Regions from separate parts of the Homo sapiens genome. Here region 1 is linked to region 2. Evidence: promoter capture Hi-C in human tissues and cell types (Jung and others, 2019). All regions are on one chromosome and are shown on one strand. Each heading gives the region's core, a stretch centred on a gene start or on the middle of the fragment in contact. The rest is flanking DNA. Distances are from core to core; before and after follow the strand shown. Region 1 overlaps COL25A1 (collagen type XXV alpha 1 chain). Region 2 holds the start of COL25A1 (collagen type XXV alpha 1 chain).

Region 1 (3,569 bases), core at 416-2,915, 140 kb after region 2:
TGTTGAATACATAGCATTCTCTTCCATAAGCACTTCTTAAAAAAAAAACCTTGTAATTCATAATTTTCAGTAATTAAAACTGAGCCATACCACTCGTTAATTTATATTACTCAGGTTTTACTACTTGGATTAAGTAATTACTTAGCAGAAGTGTTGAAGCAATTTACAATTCTGTGATCATCAACATAGACCAATTTCACATTGGCTCAAAGCTGAAGGGTCAGGAAATCCTTATGAATTATTTATTTTACTTTTGTAAATAAAAATGACTCTTTGGTGCATTGCAACAGATCAGAACCAGAAACCAGCAGGATTTGATGAGCAGAGGCACAGGTGGCTTCTCATAATGAACCTGATATGAGGAATTGGGAGTAGTTCAAGAGCTGAGCTGACTTCCAGGTGTTCTTGTTCCCAAAGTCAGACTTCAGTTACCTGCCAAAGAAGTAAAACCTCATTCATCAGAAAACACCTTTAGCCATTCATGCTGTTTAGGCTTCCAAAATCTGCCATGCAGCCTGTGCAGCAGGAATTCCTGCTGGGGGGAAATGGTTGATCTTCTGCAATTAGTCTGCTTCCATTTCCCTGTTGCTTCTTTTCTGTGTGTTGCTAACCTACCTCTCTTTTGTCCTCAGTTCCTTCATGTCCCACCTTGCATATTCTCTAGTCATATAGGCCAAAAAACTCTGCACAGTTTTTACATGGCTGCAGCAAAGGCCATTGTATCTGGTGGAAACAATTTTGGGCAGATGAACTGGCAACGTAAAGCCTGTGCCACCCACTTAGTAACACTGTACACATCTCTAAACCTTGCTGGATTTGACCACGTAGGTTGAAAATCAACACACTAAGTACTTGGGTTGAGTTTCATTTAGTAGGTAGAATAGCTTTTGTCTTAGCCTGGGATGCCCAGAAAACATGGCCTGAGTCAGAAGCTTAACATCCTAGCACTTTACTGGGGAGTACAAACCTAGGGAAGCAGAAGTGAGGGGGAAACGGAGCAAAGCAGGGGAGGTGAAAGGTTGTTGAACAAACATAAGGAGGTGAACTTTACCAAGCTGCAGCTTCACAAGAATTACCCCAAAGATGGCTCAGTCTCACAGCACATCATCAGAGAGGACATAGGAACTAATGCATGTCAGAACAGTGCCTCAAGGGGAGGAAGAGAGAACGACTTATCCACTGGCTCCCTTTTTAAAAAATTAGGTAAAAATCACATTAGTTAAAATAAATTCACTCCCTGGAGAGGAGGTCATTAACTCTTCTGCATGTTCAGGCAGCTGCTGGGATGCCAGTTCCCCACATGTTCAGTGAGGCCGGTCTCTGTCAGACAGTGCCTCTCAGGCCACATCTGTAGCATAGCAGGTAAATCAGCTGTTACGGTCCAGTAAACTTTGACTCTTTCCATCTAATTCATGTTAGTCACACTCATTCTTATTTCTATAGCTCCCATACTATCCACCTCATTTTAAAGTGCTCTCGTTGACTCTAGACATTCCTCCTGGCAACCCAAACTCAGTGCATGGAACTTGCATTGTAGTTAGGGAGACCAACAAAAGCCAAGTAGGTAAATAAAAATGATTTTAGGGAGTCACACTGCTATGTAGGAAACAAAACAAGCTGATGGACAGTAGTTGCAGGTGTCTTGAGAATCTATACAGCCTGGCACTTGGATGATTTCACCACTTCTTTTCGCTCTTCTGCATTAGACTGCTGACCTTAACAAATTAATTTCTGAGCACTCTCCAGTATGATCTGCCTGCTCCAGTCACTTACAACTACTTGCAGTTCTCTGACTTTGATTTGCTAATTTCTATTTTTGGGCCTTTGCATGTACCAAAAATGCCCTATGCCTCTTTCTAGCCAATCTTTCTCCTCTTCTTCCTTAAAAATCTGATGCAAAACCTTCTACGGGAAGCCTTTCCTGATATATTTCCCCTGTTATATCTTCAATTGCCTGTATTTATGTCAACTGCACCATATTACACTAATTTGAATTGAATTCTATATTATCTTAAAAATGTCCTCATGTTCTTTTCTATGTTCTTGATACTACATTACTTTCCTGGCCCCATATGCAGAGCATTGGACATGATGTTGGAATGGCTGGCAGAGACCACACAGGAAAGTTCAGTGCGCTGCCGAATGATTCACTAGATGTTACCTGTTGCCTGAGATTTGGAGTGAACTACTTCTTCATACCTTACTCTAGTTAACACACGGTCCCTGGTGAAGTCACTAACTGGTCCGGGAATCTCAGGCACTTCTCCTCTTGTTTCTCACCTATAAGAAAGTTTTACAAATGAACTCCAATGTCTTTTCCATCTTCAGTATAATTTTAAAGTATTAATATAGTAACTGGAATGTTATCTGTTTTTGTTTTTCTGAATTGTTTAAGAAAATACAATATAACTTCCAGAGTTTAAACATGGAAAAAGCAAATACTTTGTTATATAAAACAAAGAAGATATTTGGCTTCCACAATTCAGAGTGCAGCAGAAAGAGTACAGTGCTGGATATCAATGTAAATTCCCTTATCTCTTTCCTAACAATTCAGATTCATCTTCAGGGGTTCAGAAAGCTTATATTTAAACAATCAATTCAGGTAATTATATTATAACAATATAATGTTACTTGATGTAGATATTTAAGGATAAGAAAGAAAGAACAGATTTACTAGATTATAAGGCAAATCAGTAAGAGGAACTAATTCAGGTTTCTATCAACTAGAACAACCTTGGCACTATTGACATTTCAGAACAGATAATTCTTTGTTTTGTGTGGCTGTCCCATACACTATAGAATATTTAGCAGTATCCTTGACTTTTACCCACCAGATGCCTGTCCCACCTTCTAGTTGCAAGAATCAATGTCTCCAGGGATTGTCAAATATCTCCCGGGTGCAAAATTTCCCCTGGTTCTAGTTCCCCAACTAGATCATGATGTAGTTGAAATTCATATAAAATAGTTGAGGCCATGTGTGTAATCCCAGCATTTTGAGAGGTAAAGGTGGGAGGATCGCTTGAGGCCAGGAGTTTGAAATTAACCTGGACAACATAGTGAGAACCCTGTCTCAAAAGAGAATTAGAAAAAGAGTTATACTATGTAAATTATTATAAATATTTCATATATGGATTATATAAGATGTACAGAGTCTAACAATATTCAAATTTATAAAAATAAAATGCTGTATTGTTATAATAAAAGGAAATAAGCCAATTACATAATATGTAGGTTGGTAAAGGGATTTTAGGGTATGCTCATTTAAAAACTTTAGTTTTTGAGTTTAAAAAAAGAGTGAATCCTGATGAGAATTTTTAGTTCTTTCCTCACTTACAGGTCAGGCCGGCAGGTCACTGGCCATCCCTTGGGGTCAGTGCGTGGGTCATAGAGCTCTTCCTGCTGACCTCAGGCTCACTGACTGTTTGTAGGACCAACAATAGGCCAGTCTTGTAGTAATTAGTGCAAATATGCTAAATTGTGCAGATGGACAGAGCCCGTTCCCAAGGCATCTTGTAGGTAGTAGTGGCTTATCCATGACAGGTTGAAGCAGGGCGAACTTAGGTATAAAA
Region 2 (3,855 bases), core at 685-3,184:
TGAGGTTCAGGAGAGAGGTTTGGGCTTTTGATATGAATTTATGACTCATCAGTGTAATGGGAACTCTACTGGAGAGAGTATACAGAGAAGATGGAATAGACAGAGACCCAAGGAGCACCAACTTTCAGAGAAATGAAAGAGGAAAAGCCTGCAAATGAGACTAAGGAACAGCTAGAGGTTACAGAAAGAGTTTGTACATTAAAATATTTGTACCCATTATTTGGGTCCTGTTATTGGAAACATGTTTAATCACAATTAAATGTGACTTGAAATTTATCTGTTTTAAAATTTATTTAAAAACGTTGTTTATATTTAAAAGAGGAACAGTAAATCCTCACATCGCAGGGTTATGAGGTTCAAATACAAAAAGTATTTGAAAATATTTTGGAAAGTATTATACCAGTGGTTCTCAAACTTTAGTAGTATATATCAAAATCATTTGGAGGGCTTGTTAAAACACAGATTGCTGTTTTTTTTAAAATTATTATTTCAGTAGTGGTAGTAGCAGTTTCTGATTCAGATCTGTGGTAGGAACCTAGAATTTTAATGTCCAAGTTCTCAGGTGATGCTGATGTTATTGGTCTAGGACCATCCTTTGAGAACCACTGTGTAATACAAATGAATTATGGTTTTGACTTTATAGCCAAATTCATTGAGTTTTCCTCCAATGTTAGTCTCTTTCTTCCTCTAATGCTGTTATTTCCTTACCTTGCTTCACACCTAGCAATATCCGTTTACACATGTGAAAGACCAACTTAGTGAAGTATTTTGTTGACTGTTTACAATAGTAAGCAACGACTTCAGGTTAGCTTAATTAAGGAGAATAGGAAAAATATATGGTTTTTTTTTTTATAGGGAGATAAGAAGGAACTCTTTGGAATAAGAGGTGGGATTTCTGTTTTCCCCAAAGTCAATTAGATGTCAAATGCTACTTGTTACCAACTTTCCAAAATCCCATTAGAGACCTTGTAATTTGATCCAGAGAGAACAGCATTAAGAGTCAGGTAAAAGGAAAAACTGACTTCATTCTTCATTCCTTTCCTAAATCCTGAGAAATGTGTATACCTCAACACTCCCTTTTCCAATCCCGCAAAACAGGGAATCAGGAAAACACATTAGCACCCTAGTACAGACTAGGAATACAGAGCTGGGAGGAGACTCAGTGCCGTCAAGACAAGGAAACTGGGGGAGGGGAAGGAAAACTTCCCCTCGTTGGACAATCTGAGGGCTGCAGTGGGAAGAGAAGGGAAGTGGGGAAATGTACCTCAGACGTCGGCCAGACACTTTGCCTCTGGGCATGTGGGAAAGTGAGGGAGGAGGGAAAAGCGCTGCACCACAGCGAGATAGCAACAGCTCCTGCGGCTGCTTTTGAGTGAAGATCAGTAGAGATAGAGCGTGCCGCTTCACATCTTCCTCCCGGAGGCCATTTCTCCATTTTTATGTGGGATAAAAAGGGGGCGCTGGGCTGAGTCAGTATAAGCCAAAGTTGCCGCCTCTTGCGCAGCCGACCCCGCTTCGGCCCCGGCCCAGGCCAGAGAGGTGGCCCTCGGAGATGCTGAAGTTACTCCGCGCAGGGGGAGGGGTCGCCAGGCTCCTCTCCAATCACGGTGGCCGCTCCAGCTATTTGCATACATTATGCTAATAACAGACCTCCTGCCCCGCTCCCACCCAAGCTTCCCGCCTCCCTTGGGGGTTCCCCGGGCCGGCCCGCGGGCTGGGCCAAGGTGAATACATTATGATAATAAGGCGGGCTCCTGCTTTGCCTTCGGAAGGGGGGCGCGCAGCAGCGGGAGCGGCAGGCCGGACGCCGGGCGCCGGGAGGGGGTCGGGGGAGGGACGTCGTGCTCGGAGCGCGCGCGCACTCACACACTCACACACACACTCACGCGAGCATCGCGAAGGGTATTTAAGGATCGCGCACGCGGGGCTGCGGAGATCCTTCGGGCAGCCGCGACTTCGGCTTCGCGAGTAGCATTGGTTCCTTGGGTTTATTTCGTTTTCCTCTCTCTTCTCCACCTTAGTCGCCCCTTTCGCGCTGCGCTGTAGCGTGCTCTCACAGCCTTTTTGCCTTGAACTGAATGCAGGTGGGAAACAGGTCGGCGTGCCGAAAGACACCGAGTAGGTAGAAATAAGGCAAACTCACAGAGGCGCAACAGGTCCGGTCCTCCGTGGCCAGGGCGAGCCGCGGCCCCGCGTGGCGCCTCGGCCGTTGCCCTCGGACCCTGAGCGGCCACTGTTGGGGCCCTCGAAAGAGGTGTCGGTCCTCTGGGAGTCGGAAGAGCTGTCTGGGTGGGTTTCGTCTTGCTTTTTACCCCACCGCCACCCAGTCCCCGGACGGAGGGTGCTTTTCACTTCCAGCTGGGAGGAGAGAAGAAAGCGGGGATGGTGCACGCCTGCGGGTCTGGACGCTGAGCAAGGCAGGGGTCCGTATCCGCTCGTGGGCTTGACTCCACCAACTAGTTGTGCAGCCACAGGGACTGAACTTTGGAGGAATCGACCTTTTTCTTTCCTTTTAGGATTATTTGAGGTGTAGAGGGTGGGAAGCGAAGCCGAGACGGCCGACCCCGCCACGATGCTGCTGAAGAAGCACGCAGGGAAAGGAGGGGGCCGGGAGCCCAGATCCGAGGACCCGACCCCTGCCGAACAGCATTGTGCCCGGACCATGCCCCCGTGTGCCGTCCTGGCGGCCCTCCTGTCAGTGGTGGCCGTGGTGTCTTGCCTGTACCTGGGTGTGAAAACCAACGACCTCCAGGCGAGGATCGCCGCTCTCGAATCCGCCAAAGGGGCCCCTTCCATTCATCTGCTGCCTGATACCCTGGATCACCTCAAGACTATGGTGCAAGAGAAAGTGGAGCGACTTCTGGCTCAGGTGTGAGAGGCTGGGGTATTTTGCACGTGGGTAACATCTTGTACAAGCGTGACTCTGTGTGCATGACTAGCCGCTACCCTTACTGTACCCATACTTGGTGTGGCTGTGTGTGTGCGCGCGCGTGCATGTGTTGGCCAAGGATCTATGCTCACTGTAGCATATATTTATATGTGCACATCCCTTGATGTCCCCATCCCTATCTCTAATCTTCCCTCACTCTCTCTTAATGTTTGCGTGTTAAACACATAGGAAGGTCTAAAAGGGTTCGGAAAGGGCATTTTATCTCTTTTTAGTTGTCCTAAGTCAAACCCAATTGTGGAGAGAATATTTCTTGCAGAGATAGCATCTGTTAAATCTTTTACATGTTGTAAGATGGTTAGGGTCATAGATGTTATTAATATATAAAAAAGGTAATCACTCTTAAATGTAAAATAATGTCATATATAATTTAAAATCAATAATTTCACACGTTGAATCTTTTCATATTAAAAGTTTAAACTTTTTTTTTTTAAAGTAGCTTTATTTTTGGTAAAGGATGCAGTGCCGGGGTATTTATGAATGCAGAGCCCTTGGAATTGAGAGTTGAGAGGAATCTATGTTATGTGTAAGGGTACCTTTAGACTAGAGTAAGGGGGTTTTCTGGAACCTTACCCTAGCCGGGAGCCTATTTGGCAGTAGTTGCAGCCTAGCATGATAAATAAAGCAGTTGACCTTCATGTATAAAATATTGGCTGTTATTGGTAAGCCACAGCTTACCTAATACTGCAACATTTTAGTGCTAGGTTTTTACATTGACTGCATATGCTTGAGCTGAGGGAGAGAGTGGTGGTAGAGAAGAATGGAGAAAGATGTTATACAAGTCCAGCAATCTTGATACCCTATCAGTGGTCATTTTCTTTTTTTAGGACTTAGGCATGGTTACTTTCTTGACTAGAGTCCAAGTACATATGTAAATGTTAGTTATGCAGGTTATGAAATGCCGGTAA

The links. The method cuts DNA at HindIII sites, captures the fragments that hold promoters and counts their contacts. A contact is called where the count stands out against the background at its distance.
Region 1: a contact is called between a fragment that was not itself captured here and the fragment with the promoter of COL25A1 in region 2, in 1 of the 25 tissues and cell types used here (H1 embryonic stem cells).

The regions. Positions count from the first base shown.
Region 1 is chr4:109,160,524-109,164,092 of GRCh38, reverse strand. The region is part of intron 3 of COL25A1 (collagen type XXV alpha 1 chain); the gene reads left to right. Among named protein-coding and RNA genes, the nearest start is that of COL25A1, 140 kb to the left of the region's middle. The HindIII fragment of the contact is 3,474 bases long and covers 1-3,402 here.
Region 2 is chr4:109,300,737-109,304,591 of GRCh38, reverse strand. COL25A1 (collagen type XXV alpha 1 chain) reads left to right here and starts at 1,934. Exons shown (of 38, transcript NM_198721.4): 1 at 1,934-2,423; 2 at 2,517-2,869. The coding sequence starts at 2,573. COL25A1-DT (COL25A1 divergent transcript) reads right to left here and starts at 1,557. Exons shown (of 3, transcript NR_160939.1): 1 at 1,265-1,557. RefSeq lists an enhancer at 1,080-1,862. The HindIII fragment of the contact is 11,543 bases long and covers 1-3,855 here.